Regions from separate parts of the Homo sapiens genome. Here regions 1, 3, 4 and 5 are each linked to region 2. Evidence: promoter capture Hi-C in 16 types of primary human blood cells and fetal thymus (Javierre and others, 2016). All regions are on one chromosome and are shown on one strand. Each heading gives the region's core, a stretch centred on a gene start or on the middle of the fragment in contact. The rest is flanking DNA. Distances are from core to core; before and after follow the strand shown.

Evidence for each region. The method cuts DNA at HindIII sites, captures the fragments that hold promoters and counts their contacts. A CHiCAGO score of 5 or more calls a contact.
Region 1: a fragment that was not itself captured here is called in contact with the fragment with the promoter of NAA35 in region 2 in 5 of 17 cell types (fetal thymus, total CD8 T cells, naive CD8 T cells and 2 more); the score reaches 9.9 in fetal thymus.
Region 3: a fragment that was not itself captured here is called in contact with the fragment with the promoter of NAA35 in region 2 in 1 of 17 cell types (non-activated CD4 T cells); the score reaches 5.7 in non-activated CD4 T cells.
Region 4: a contact is called between a fragment that was not itself captured here and the fragment with the promoter of NAA35 in region 2, in 1 of 17 cell types (non-activated CD4 T cells). The highest score is 5.7, in non-activated CD4 T cells.
Region 5: a fragment that was not itself captured here is called in contact with the fragment with the promoter of NAA35 in region 2 in 1 of 17 cell types (total B cells); the score reaches 5.1 in total B cells.

The regions. Positions count from the first base shown.
Region 1 is chr9:87,971,196-87,973,895 of GRCh38, reverse strand. CDK20 (cyclin dependent kinase 20) reads left to right here. Exons shown (of 8, transcript NM_001039803.3): 3 at 2,561-2,700. Among named protein-coding and RNA genes, the nearest start is that of CDK20, 2.0 kb to the left of the region's middle. The HindIII fragment of the contact is 4,347 bases long and covers 1-2,700 here.
Region 2 is chr9:85,939,767-85,942,519 of GRCh38, reverse strand. It overlaps NAA35 (N-alpha-acetyltransferase 35, NatC auxiliary subunit), which reads right to left and starts at 1,374. Exons shown (of 23, transcript NM_024635.4): 1 at 1,247-1,374; 2 at 237-365. The coding sequence starts at 360. RefSeq lists a silencer at 791-1,470. The HindIII fragment of the contact is 5,629 bases long and covers 350-2,753 here.
Region 3 is chr9:83,684,117-83,686,816 of GRCh38, reverse strand. It overlaps UBQLN1 (ubiquilin 1), which reads left to right. Exons shown (of 11, transcript NM_013438.5): 2 at 662-813. Among named protein-coding and RNA genes, the nearest start is that of UBQLN1-AS1, 22 kb to the left of the region's middle. The HindIII fragment of the contact is 3,472 bases long and covers 1-2,700 here.
Region 4 is chr9:83,664,090-83,666,789 of GRCh38, reverse strand. UBQLN1 (ubiquilin 1) reads left to right here. Exons shown (of 11, transcript NM_013438.5): 8 at 357-440; 9 at 1,645-1,760. Among named protein-coding and RNA genes, the nearest start is that of IDNK, 42 kb to the right of the region's middle. The HindIII fragment of the contact is 5,914 bases long and covers 1-2,700 here.
Region 5 is chr9:88,381,986-88,384,769 of GRCh38, reverse strand. No RefSeq gene overlaps it. Among named protein-coding and RNA genes, the nearest start is that of SPIN1, 5.1 kb to the left of the region's middle. The HindIII fragment of the contact is 2,446 bases long and covers 288-2,733 here.

The DNA.
Region 1 (2,700 bases), core at 138-2,637, 2.0 Mb before region 2:
TTCTCACCCTCAGTCGCTCGTTCCCACTTCTTTGTGCCTTCATTTTCCCAGCTACGCCTTCACCAGCTTTCAGGGATTTCCTCCCGCTGTCACTCACACACACTGCTCATTCATCTGCCTCCTTACCCCCTTTTGCCCTTTTTTGTCCACTTGTTCACCTTTATTTACCTATTTCTTTCATTTCTCACACATTCACTCTCATTTGCCTACTTATTTCTTAATGTATTCATTCATTCACCGACTTTTTTTCTCAAAACATGTAGTGATTTATAATGTAACTAGCACCTATTGAGCTCCCGATGTGTTCTGCAGGCATTATATACATTGTCATTTTGAGACCTCTTTACTACTGTACAAGGCAGGTTTCCAGATCTCTGTTTCTCAGGTGAGAGGAGGAGGTTATGTCACCAGCTCTTGGGCCCTCCGTTAGTCAGTAGAGGGTTTGGCCCAGGTTTGATTGAGAGTCCATTCTTCCCTTGGGACCTCCCATAGGCTCTACCCTGTGTTGGGCACTGGTGACACAGAGAAACCAGCTCCAGCCCAGCTCCTGAGGACTTAAGTGTGCTAACAAGAGACAGAGGCAACAGGGCCCACCTAGTGTGGTTCGTGCTGTGATAGGGTACCGGGAGGGGCTGCTGGAACACGAAGAGGGGCATCTTTCACCCCTAGTGTCATTACTCTTTTGGTGCTCTCTCTCACCCATGTCGAAATAGGGAATGTATTTGACTCCCTGGAGAGTTAACAGGGTTGGGTCTCTGTGATCTGGAGATATGCATGATATATTGGATGACAAAAGCATGTTATAAAATTTTGTGTCATCTGGGTTTTGTTTGGAAATATTATATATGTGAATGTGTATTTGTGTGTGCCATATCTGTTGTAAAGTCTGGTAGAATACACTCTAAGATTGACTGTAGGATTTTTCTTTTGTTCTTTTTCTGTTGGATTTTATGTCTTACCTGAATGTGTGCATGTGTTTTGATCTGTTAAATGGTTGTGTACTACCTGAAAAATCCGAAAACAGCAATCAGGCCATTTTGATTTTTTGAGGAAGATAAAAGGGCTTCCAGACAGCCATGTGTGGGATAGGTGGAGAGATCCATAAGGAAGCTGGTGATATGGTCCCTACATCCAGTTGGTCAGCAATTCTGAAGGTTCTAACTTTAAAACATACTCTAGATTTGCTCCTTGCCCAAGTCATCATCACCACTCATCAGAATGACAGTGGCAGCCTCCCCACTGCTCTCCATAGCCACAGTCCGGAGGGCTTTGTCAAAAGTGTAAGTTAAGTCATCGGCTCCCCTGCGTAAAAAGCCCTGGTGGCTTCTCTTCACACTTAGAGCACTATCACCATGTGCCCACCTCCAGCTGGCCTCTCCCTTTTCTCTCATTCAACACAACTTCTTAGGCATCTCTCCAGTGACCAGCACCTATCTAGGGTCCAGGAGCACAGAACAAGGCAGACACATCCTTCCCTTAAACAATCTCATGTACTCACATCCCTCTAGCCTCCTTCTGTGCTGGCGTTAGGGCCTTGCACTTGCTTTTCTTCCTGCTCAGAGCTTTATCCCAGATCCCCACAAACTGGGTCCTCATCTAGCCCCACCCCACCTAAATAAAGAAGTATCCTTTTCTCCACTCACAGAATCACACTATCCTCTTCTAGTTCTGTTGATTTTTTTTCTTTTTTTGATACAGGGTCTCACTCTGTCACCCAGGCTGGAGTGTAGAAGTGCGATTTTGTCTCCCTGTAGTCTCAACCTCCTGGGCTCAGGTGATCCTCCCACCTCAGCTTCCCAAGTAGCTAGGACTACAGGCACGTGTCACCATGCCTGGCTAGTTTTTTGTATTTTTTGTAGAGACAAGGTTTCACCATGTTGCCCAGGCTGGTCTCAAACACCTGGGTTCAAGCCATCCGCCCACCTTGGCCTCTCAAAGTACTGGGATTACGGGCATGAGACGTCATGCCCAGCCCCCTTGTATTTTGGTTCCTGTACTTACAGAATCTGAATATATCCCTTTTATTCATTTATTTGTTAAACTGTTTGTCCTTTGTGCTGTGAGTTCATTAAGAGTCCTGTCTCTCAGCTCACTCTCTGTGTAGCCTGGCTCCTCTGACAGTACTGGCCTCAGTGTTTGTGATGTGTCTGTAGCTGTCCCAGCACTGGGAAAGGTGGGATTCCTGGTGTCCTTTCCTTGGTGCTGGGATTCGGTGGTTCTAGAGGAAACAGGAGGAGACCTGTCCATCTCATGTGTGACCATCCAGATGATTTTCAGGCGGGTAGGCTGGGTGGGCGGACCAGATGGTGCCACTAAATGACCTTTTTTAGACCTTTTAGTGTTCATGGAGAATTAGAGTGGGGGCACACCTTATCTCAGGAGAGCAGAGCAAATCATGAGCATCGAGCTCTCTGATTCTTAGCTCAGGTCCACGTCACCTTCTTTGCTTACTGTCTTTTTGGATACAGGGTCCTCTGTCAGGGCATGGGCTGGGGTCTCAGGGTCACAGAGAGGGTCTGGTGACTTGAGTCTGGGGGCTAACAAGATGTCCTGCCCACAGGTGGTACAACTGAAGGCTGTGTTCCCACACGGTGGAGGCTTTGTGCTGGCCTTTGAGTTCATGCTGTCGGATCTGGCCGAGGTGGTGCGCCATGCCCAGAGGCCACTAGCCCAGGCACAGGTCAAGAGCTACCTGCAGAT
Region 2 (2,753 bases), core at 125-2,624:
CTGTTAAAGCAAGAAAAATTCAATTTTAAAATACTGCCTCAACATCTGTATTTAATGCTGTATCAAATATACATTTGCTTTAAAGTTAAAATTAGAGGATACAGAATAAGTGTGGCTAACAAACTCAACAAACCACATTTACCTGTTGATTTCATCTAATGAGGTAAGTTTAGAAAGCACAATCGTCATTCTACCCCTTCCAGATGCTGAACTTCTAATCCAAAAATCAGACTCACCTCGACAAGCTTCTTCAAAATCTTGGGTAATGTCCACCCAGTTTGTATTGCTTTTCTCCATTTTTTCTGGCATACTGAGCTCCCATCCTGAATCGTCATCATCTACAGAAGCTTTCATAACCATTATGCCTGTAAAATTAATACTGATGTAAGAGAGAGGATGTAGCTTTCAGGGCAAGAGTATTTGCAGAAATGGGTGTTTGTTTCAGCATAGGATGAAGTCTTAACTAAACTCTTTAAAGCAGAACTCTTCTGAGTCTAAGGACAGTACTGCAAAGAATAACCTTAATGCAATCAAATCGCACGTCAATTAACACTCCTGCTGCTTACTATTAGCCCACCACCTACCAGGGCCCATAAACATTTTGCCTTCCTACTGTTTAAGAAGAAAAATCACAAACCATCTCACCTCTGGCCCGAAAAGAACAACTCCAGAGCTTCCAACTTTCAATAATAGCCACAAAAGACCAAGGCACTATTCAGGGTCCCCTCTCGCAGCCCAGGACCCCATGCGGCAGCTACCGAAGTCAATCAAGGTAGCCCTTCATCTGGCCAGAGCTCGCTGGGACCTCTCCCGGGCCAGAGCCGGCCCGGACCCAGGCAGAACCTCGCCGGGAGCAATGAGGAGCCGGCAGGCACCGCAGGGTCCCGCCGGCCGGGCCTAGGGCCGAGGCACACCTGAGGCGGGCACACGCTTCCCTTCCGCCCTGCCCGGGTCAGCCCAGCCCAGCCCCGGTCCCACTGGGCGCATAAGCAAGGACAGAGCTGTCGCCGCGCGGGAGGGCGGGCACGTCCGGCGCCGGGTCGTCGCCTCGGCAACACCGGGCAAGAGTGGGGCCTCGGCCGACAGCGGGCACTGGGGAGCCCGCCGCTCCTACCTGACGCGCAGCGGGAGGGCCGGGGCCGCAGGGTGACCTGGGGTCCCCAGGATCTGCCACACGCGCGGGGGGCTGCGGCTCTCGGACACACGAGCGAGAGGGTTTCAATGGCTACGCAGGGGCGGTCCCTACCTACTTCTCCCGTGGTCACCCGCGCCGCCACGCACTGTCCGGACCACGGAAATAACGACGCCGCCTCGGCCGCCGCCGCCCCCTCCCCTCTCAGCCCAGCCCGACCGGCAGCGTGCACGCATGCGTATGCCCGGGACGCGCGACCCCGCCCCCTCTCCCTTACTCCCGGGGACTTCGCGCTCCCCGGCCACACCCCCTCCCTCGCCACCGCCTCCGTTCGGCCGATGGCGGCCGCCTTCTCTTCTCGCGAGATTAGAGACGATCGCGAGACCGGAAGTTATCTTTTTTCACCCTCTGTCGGAGTCCTGGGTAGTGGGCGGTTCCCGGAAAGAGGCGGAGCCCGGAGTCTCAGAGCCCGCCCCGTCTGCGCTGCCCTCTGGGAATTTCTTAGAAAGGTGACGCGAAGGCGGAAGGAAACCGTGGAGGTTTGCGTAGACCTTAGTGGTTGCGAGCACGAACGAGCAGCCAAGCTCCGAGAGCAACAGCGTGCTACTGCTGCCTGACAACGGATTTATGTTTCCTATACAGCGCCTGGGAGTTTCGTGAGGAAACATAGATTCAAAATATCTGCAAAGTCAAGCCAGACATTTAATTTCAGATTCTTATATGTTTTAGATTTTTTTAATTTATTAATAAAATGATCAGTTTTTAAATGGGGTTACATAAATAGACGGGCGCAGGTAAGAAGCACATCTTTATCACCACCTGTTCTTTAGGATGGCCCAAAATTAAAAGATGGAAAAGATAATACCAAATGTTGGCAAGGATGCAGAGCAACTGGACCTCTGTTATGTTGGTGGTGGTAATGCAAAATGGTACAACCACTTTGGAAAACTTAACAATCTCTCCTTATAATCATATACTTATCATTCGATCCAGTAATCTACGAATTTACTTAGGAACAAAAACATATTCATACAAAGGCTTGTACGTTAATGTTCATACCAGCTTTGTTTTGCTTTGTTTTTGTTTTTGTTTGAGACAGAGTGTCACTCTTGTCGCCCCTGCTAGAGTGCAGTGACCTGATCTCGGCTCATTGCAACCTCTGCCTTTCAGGTTCAAGCAATTCTCGTGCCTCAGTCTCCCGAGTAGCTGGGATTACAGGCGCCTGCCCCCACACCAGGCTGTTTTTTGTATTTTTAGTAGAGATGGGGTTTCACCATGTTGGTCAGGCTGATCTCAAACTCCTGACCTCGTGATCTGCCCACCTCAGCCTCCCAGAGTGCTGGGATTACAGGTATGAGCCACCGTGCCTGGCCCAGCTTTGTTTTTAATCATCAAAAACTACAGACAACCCAAATGTCCATCAACTGTTGAATAAAAACAATTTGTGGCATATCCATACAATGTAATGAATGTAATTATCAATAAACAGGGATAAACTACTTGACATACAACATGAATGAATTTCAAAAATATATTGAGTAAAAGAAATCAGGCTGAGCTTGGTAGCTGGTAGCTCATGCGTGTAATCCCAACACTTTGGGAGGCTGGCAGTGGAGAGGTC
Region 3 (2,700 bases), core at 122-2,621, 2.3 Mb after region 2:
AGTGTCATGGATACTCAAAAGTTTTGGATGTTGGTGCATTTCATATTTGGGGTATTTGCATTAGAGATACTCCACCGCTAGGCCAAGAATATGAGATTGGCTGTGTATACTGTATTCAACTAGAAAGAAAGGAACAGGACTGAAGATAGAAGTCTGAGGAATGGATTATTTTGGACGTGGTAAGAGCTAACTGTGGCTCGAACTAAATTTGGTCTCATTAACATAAAAAGAATAAGGATATTGGGAAGCAATGCATTGTTAGGCCTTAGCAGAGGATCGAATATAGGATATGTGCACCTATAGTAGGACCTTTGTGTTAGAGATGAAGTAATAATCATTTCTTACTAACATCAAGATACTGACATAAAAAGGATGCATCTCTGTATTGTTTTGAATTGGGGATTTTTTGTTTTGTTTTGTTTTTAGAGGCGGGATATCACTCTGTCACCCAGGCTGGAGTGCAGTGGTGTGATAATAGCTCACTGCAGCCTCGAACTCCTGGACTCAGGCAGTCCTCCTGCCTCAGCCTCCTGGAACATTGGGATTATGGTGTTTGAATTGTAGCGTCTGTAGTAGGGGCCTCTATGAGGTACCTGTAGAAACTAGACTGTATGGTGCTGTGCAAACAACTGTAATACATACTTATTTTATTTTTATTTAGTTTAAGGAAGAAATCTCTAAACGTTTTAAATCACATACTGACCAACTTGTGTTGATATTTGCTGGAAAAATTTTGAAAGATCAAGATACCTTGAGTCAGCATGGAATTCATGATGGACTTACTGTTCACCTTGTCATTAAAACACAAAACAGGTATGGTTTTGGAAGATGTACAGCTTTAAAATTGTGGATAAATGTTCGTACTTCTAAAAGTAACTAGTGTTGGCTGTAAATTACTTTCCCTGTCATTAATATTTAAATAGTTAAAATTCTTTCCTTGCTGTCGATAACAATTTTTTTAAAAAGTGTGATTCCATGTTAATGCTTACGTGATTGTCAGATAACCATTTCATATTTTACAAGGTTCATTGGTATTTAGTTATTATACCTAAATTATTTGCATTAGAACAGGCAAGTTTTTAGCTTTTCTTTTAGTAAGGAAATTTTTAGACAAAGATCATGAGTAACTTATCTCCTTAGCAAACCACGAATTGATAATCATATTTCTTTAAGTCTAAGGAACTTTTTTTTTTTTTTTTTTAAGAGACAGAGTCATGCCATGTTGCCCAGGCTGGGCTCAAGTGATGCTCCCATGTCAGCCTGGGACTGTAGGTGCGTGCCACAGTGTCCAGCTGGCACCACCAGTTTTAAAGAGATACCTTTGTGTATCACTAAGAAAGAATACTGCTAACTGAATTGATGTTTTCTTGTCACTTAAAATGTTTATTTTATACTTAGTGAAAGAGCTCCTTTAGACTTACATGGGTATGGAATTTTATCATATCACTCTTGCATAACATACGAAGACTTAGTTGTCAGTGTCCATATTTTTTCATACAGTATCAAACTCTGTTCTGTCAAGAGTGTTGGTGGTGTAGCATTGCTTAAAAGAGCTCTCCAGTATTTTCTCCAGGATTTTGTTCCAAGCCATTAACACTCCTGTAAGTTTTTATGCTGTTGTTTACCAACAGCAAATACTTGCTTTACTCATTCAACATATTCCTTCTATTTTGGTGCTATTCTGAATACATGGTAACTTCTGTCAGTGCCAATTAATAGTGTAATTATTTTGAAGACACTTAATGTGGTAATTAAGCCCGTTACATATGATACAACAGTGTACCCAGGCATTCAGTTGAAGTCATGTAGACTACATGTGCAGGCATGTAGTTGATGCCTGGCTGTCAGCAATTGTAAGACAGATCCTGATTTCGGAGATGTTAAAATAGAAAAATGTGTGCCTTAGCTAAATTCAGGGAAAGAAGCAATGAGTGGCATTCAAAACTCTTATCTGGTATCATCTGGAAGGGTTTTTTTTATTTCCTTACTTTTTTTTTTTTTTTTTTGAGACGGAATTTCACTCTTGTTGCCCAGGCTGGAGTGCAACGGTGCGATCTCAGCTCACTGCAACGTCTGCCTCTGGGTTCAAGCGATTCTCCCGCCTCAGCCTCCCAAGTAGCTGGAATTACAGGCATGCGCCACCACGCCCGGCTAATTTTGTATTTTTGATAGAGACGGGGTTTCCTCATGTTGGCCAGGCTGGTCACGAACTCCTGAACTCAGGTGATCCACCAGCCTTGGCCTCCCAAAGTGCTGGGATTACAGGTGTGAGCCACCTTGTCTGGCTTATTTCCTTTTAGAGATAATACTAAGTAATAATCAGGCCAGGCGCGGTGGCTCACACCTGAAATCTGAGCACTTTGGGAGGGTGAGGTGGGCAGATCACCTGAGGTCAGGAGTTCCAGAGCAGCGTGGTAAACATGGTGAAACGCTGTCTCTACTAAAAATACAAAAAATTGCCCAGCACAGTGGTGTGCACCTGTAGTCCCAGCTACTCGGGAGGCTGAGGCAGGAGAATCGCTTGAACCTGGGAGGTGGAGGTTACAGTGAGCCGAGATCATGCCACTGCACCTCCAGCCTGGGTGACAGAGCAAGACTCTGTCTTTAAAAAAATAAATAAATAAAGTAATAATTATTAATCATATTGATTTGTTGGCTTTCTTTTGGTGAAGTCTCTCGCTTTTTATTGTTTTCAAGAAT
Region 4 (2,700 bases), core at 185-2,684, 2.3 Mb after region 2:
AGTAGAAAATATATCTTCATGAATGCCAGTTACTCCCATTTTTCTTTCAATGGCATATATTCACGTTTGTTCAAGGAAAAGCCTAAGAAAATGATTGCTTTTATTTTTTAGGATATTGCATGTCATTATCATAACCACCATTCTCATTGAGAGAGAATATGCCTCATTTTTTTGTTTTTGTTCTTCTGGAGATCCCTCTTGTGGACAGTATCTTCCCTTTTCCTTTTTTTATTTATGTTCTACCTTCCTCCCTTTTAAGTGCCAGCTGAGGCACTTGGGGGAAGATAGAATAAAACAAGGTACATTACTTGTTTCAGATATTTCCAGTTAAAATTGTTTGAACACTTGCCCCATAGATGATGCTGAATAATCCCCTATTTGCTGGAAATCCTCAGCTTCAAGAACAAATGAGACAACAGCTCCCAACTTTCCTCCAACAAGTGAGTAAGACAAGATGTTAGCTATCTTGGGTAATGATTTGCTTGAAAAAATTTGATGATAAACATTTTTCCTTGCTCTTCTCTGGCTGATAGCAAAACATAGAATAGAGACCAATAATGCTGTCAATTCGTAGAGAATTCAGCTTGATCTTCACTGAGTCCCATTTCACTGCTGACCTTTTGCTTATGTTTCTTAAACATACATTCTGAGGAAAGAACATTTTGTTTTTGCTTTTGAGGACCTAGGATTTTGAATGCTTTGTTAATACCATAAACCATTTCCTTTCATTGTACTAACTTTGAAGTGCTTCCTTGTGTCATGTTACGCTTTATGGTTTAACTAATTTTGAGTAACAGGAAAGAGCTACCCTATTCTATTTTATAGGTTTTCTTCCAAATTAGTAGAAGGCTTTTTTTCCCCAAGGGGTAGATCTCATTTCCTCAAACTCGGGATTAGTAAGATTAAAATAGTCAGTGTTGTCATATAAGGAAGTAAGGAAGGTTATAGTATAAACGAGTACTTGAGATTGCCATGGTATTTTATTATTTAAAACGACAAAAGAGAAGTCAGTCTTGGTGTTTTGAAACTGGTAGTTCTAGGGCCTCATGTATTATGCAAATGACTCTCAGACCTGTAAACCATTTTCCAAGGTTGGTGTCCTTGATCTATTGTAATGATGTAAGCCTATCTTTGGTTAGTCAGGTGGTGTATATTTGGAAGTAGTAAAGCTAAACTCAGGATACATGTATTAACGTCAAATTTGGAACTGTTGTTTTAGAGTGTACCTTACTGGTAAAATTGTTATATTAGTAACAGATAACACTTGGTTAGGTGGAATATGTGGCTTTTTACCATATCCACGTCGTAAGAATTGTGCCTTTGGAGGTTGTGTCTTAGAAGTAATACTTTATCTTCTGTTGGAGAAGGGGAATAGTTGTGGCTTCCAAAGTAGCTCCTGATTTTCTTCCATTATGGAAATGGCTTTCATGATGGACTTAGGAGGAGGTCAAGTAATAATTTGCACACTAGGTTTGCTGTCAAAGAGGAGATACTTGCGTTTATTTTGGGAAAGAAATTATGGATTACCAGTGTCCAGGAGTAAGGTTTTAGATTTTCTCCAGAAGCATAACAGAGAAAAGATTTAAAAATTTACGTTCACTGATTTTAATTCCTTTGTAACCACTAGTTTTCTTTCTTCCTTAGATGCAGAATCCTGATACACTATCAGCAATGTCAAACCCTAGAGCAATGCAGGCCTTGTTACAGATTCAGCAGGGTTTACAGACATTAGCAACGGAAGCCCCGGGCCTCATCCCAGGGTAGGCTTATTTGGGGAAGATAATGAAAGTGTATAATGGTTACTTTCTCTGAGAATTTCAGATTTAGTATTATTCTGCCTGCCTTTTTTTTTTTTTTTTTTTTTTTGGTGGGATACAGGGTCTCGCCCTTCGCCTAGGCTATGAGTGTGGGGGCGCAGTTGTGGCTCACTGCAGCCTCGACCTCTCGGGCTCAAGGGATTCTCTCACCTCAGCCTCCCAAGTAGCTGGGACTACAGGTGTGCACCACCACACCTAGCTAATTTATATATATAATTTGTTGTTGTTACTGTTTTTAGAGATGGAGCTTTGCCATGTTATCCAGGCTGGTCTCAAACTTCTGGGCTCAAGAGATTTGGCCTCCCAAAGTGGGATCAGAGACATGAGCCATAGCACCTGGTTCTCCCCCACCGTTTTTATTTATTTATTTACTTATTTATTTATTAAGAGATCGGTTTTTGCTCTTTTACCCTGGCTGAACTTGAACTTCTAAGCTCAGGTGATCCTCCCACCTCAGCCTCCCCAGTAGTTGGGACACAGTGCCTGGCTATGATTGTTTTTAAGTCAGGGTTTTCAAAGTTAAAAATGATTATTATTATTTTTTAAATTCCTTTTAGAGATAGTCTCACTCCATCGAGCAGACTGGAGTGCAGTGGCGCGATCTCAGCTCACTTCAGCCTCTACCTCCTGGGCTAAAGCAATCCTCTTACCTCAGCCTGCCAAGTAACTGATACTACAGGTGTGCACCAGCACACCCAGCTAATTTTGTTTTTATTTTTTGTAGAGATGAAGTCTCAACAATGTTGCCTAAGCTGATCTCAAATTCCTGGGCTGCTGGGATCATCGGTCTCCCAGAATGAGCCACTGCACCAGGCCAAAAGGGCTTATTTTAAGAAGATGGCTTAGCTTATATTAAAATGTAACTGATTTACGGACTGGCTTC
Region 5 (2,784 bases), core at 261-2,760, 2.4 Mb before region 2:
GCTCCTGCTGTCCTCCAACTTGCTAATGAAATGTTTTGAGAAACTTACCTATATAGCAAATTTCTTTTATTTTGCTTTTGTTATATTTTGGAGAAGGAGTCTTGCTATTTCGCCCAGGCCTGGCTTGAACTGTCCATCCTTCACCTTGGCTTCCTGAATAGCTGGGGCTACAAGCATGCACCACCAACCCTGGCATATAGTTAATTTCTTTGCAGTTTCTCAACCATACTCAACTTCTAGAGATTGGATCAAAGGTTCTACATATATTTTTCCTCCTATAGCAAGCTTATTAAATACAAATTGGCATGTTAAAAACCTTGGCCGGCTGGGCGCGGTGGCTCATGCCTATAATCCCAACACTTTGAGAGGCAGAGGTGGGCAGATCACCTGAGGTCAGGAGTTCGAGACCAGCCTGACCAACACGGTGAAACCCCTTCTCTACTAAAAATACAAAAAAATTAGCCGGGCTTGGTGGCAGGCGCCTGTAATCCCAGCTACTCGGGAGGCTGAGACAGAAGAATCGCTTGAACCTGGGAGGCAGAGGTTGCAGTGAGCCGAGATCGCGCCGTTGCACTCCAGCCTGGGCAATAAGAGCGAAACTCCGTCTCAAAAATAAATAAATAAATAAAAGCCTTGGCCTATACTAGATGTATATGTCTTTTAACTCTGGGTTCCTGGGCTCCTACTTGGGAGGATTTCTGCCCCAAGGATGAATATGCTTGTGATTTGGAGTGGAAGAAGGAAGAGATACCAAAGGCATGAGGGGTGGTTATATCTACGGTGAACCTTGATATGTTCACCCCACTGGCATTGATGTAATAATTGGAAACTGACCCTAGGGATCCTTTTCAAATTAGTATATTTATTATAGAATTATTCAACACAGCGAAAAGTATTCAGTATCCAATATATACCCCAAGTACATGGATAATTATTTGATTGGCTTAACCTCTAGGTGGGTGAGCTTGAAGATCCACCTTTAGGAAAGGATGCTGTCTCCCCAGTGGTTGCCTGTGTCATACACAGATGGGTCAGGCAGCGGTCATCCAGCTAGGACTGCTCAGGTTCTCCCGTTGAGTGAATATTAACATGTTGGCCCTTAATATGATTGAGGTTCATGCTGGTTCTCCCACTCACACTCATGGCTATAGATTTATGGATGTGCTGATTAGGCAGCTCTAAATGCTATGGTTTGAGTGTTTATCTCCTCCAAACTCATGTTGAAATATAGCCCCCAGTGTGGCAATATTGAGAGGTGGGGCTTTTAAGAGGTATAGTCCATACATGGATTAGTGGATTAATGGGTTGTTATGAAAGTGGAACTGATGGTTTTATAAGAGGAAGAGAGACCTGAGCTAGCAAGTGAGCTCACTCAGCCCCCTCTCCATGTGATGCCCTGCACAGTCTCAGGACTCTGCAGAGAGTCCCCACTAGCAAGAAGGCCCTCTTGAGCTTGGACTTCCCAGCCTCCATAACTGTAAGAAATAAATTTCCCTTGTGGCCGGGCATGCTGGCTCATGCCTATAATCCCAGCACTTTGGGAGGCGAAGGAGGGCGGATCACCTGAGGTCAGGAGTTGGAGACTAGCCTGGCCAACATGGTGAAACCCCGTCTCTACTAAAAATACAAAAATTATCTGGGCATGGTGGCACATGCTTGTAGTCCCAGCTATTTGGGAGTGTGAGGCACAAGAATCGCTTGAACCCGGGAGATGGAGGTTGCAGTGAGTCGAGATCATGCCACTGCACTCCAGCCTAGGCAACAAAGTGAAACTCCATCTCAAAAAAAAAGAAAAAAGGAAACTTCCTTTCTTTATAAATTACCCAGTTTCAAGCAACAGAAAATAGACTAAGACACCTAACATGTGAATCCTGATAAGATGGTGGCCTCACTGAGACAGAGGCAGCTCTTCTGTGTTGGATGTGATGAGGCACTGGGGCCAGATCTCTGACTGAGAGCCACAACTGATACAGGCTCCACGTGAGGAAGTGTGGTGTCCATCCAGGCTGTCGGTCAGAACCGAAGTCACCAGCACCTGCCTGGATGGTCAGCATTAGGACCAGAGGAGGGGAACAAATAAGGAAAGCACAAACAGAGACAGGGTCAGAAACAAACTGAGCACACACAGCCCTGCTGGGAGCCTCTCTGGGTGTTGTCTGCTCACCTGGGTTCCAGGAGGCTGGCAAGGGTGGGAGCATGCTCCATCCCTCCTCTAGCCCTCTGTCACATTATCATAGTCTTATAAGCTCCCAGCATACATCCTTTGCTCTATCCTTTGCCGTATCTCCACTGCCTAGACAAAAGTCTGGTGAGAGTAGGGGGTCAATAAAGACACTATAAGGGTGGGCACTGTGGCTCTCACGCCTGTAATCCCAGCACTTTGGGAGGCCTGGGCAGGAGTATTGTTTGAACCCAGGAGTTCCATACCAGCTTGGGCAAGTTCCATACCGGCTCAGGGCTTATTGATGGTTTAGAGTCTCTGTGGATGGCTTCCCCATGTTCACGCTACAACTTCAATACAGAAGTTATTCTTCCATGGGAAGTAATTGGTTTAAAAAAAACAAACCCAGGTGGTCTGTGGAGGAGCCACACCCAGTCTTAGGCCCAGCCCCCATCCTCTGACCCTTTCTCCCACTATCCCATCACCTTGCTAGAGTGTGAGTCTTGAATGGTGGGGGCCTGTTTAGTTTACTTCTCAGGAAGCCTCCGACTACTGGACTCGACACCAAAGCTTCTTCCTGATAAAGAAGAATATCAGACAAGATAAGTTTAACAGAGTTTATT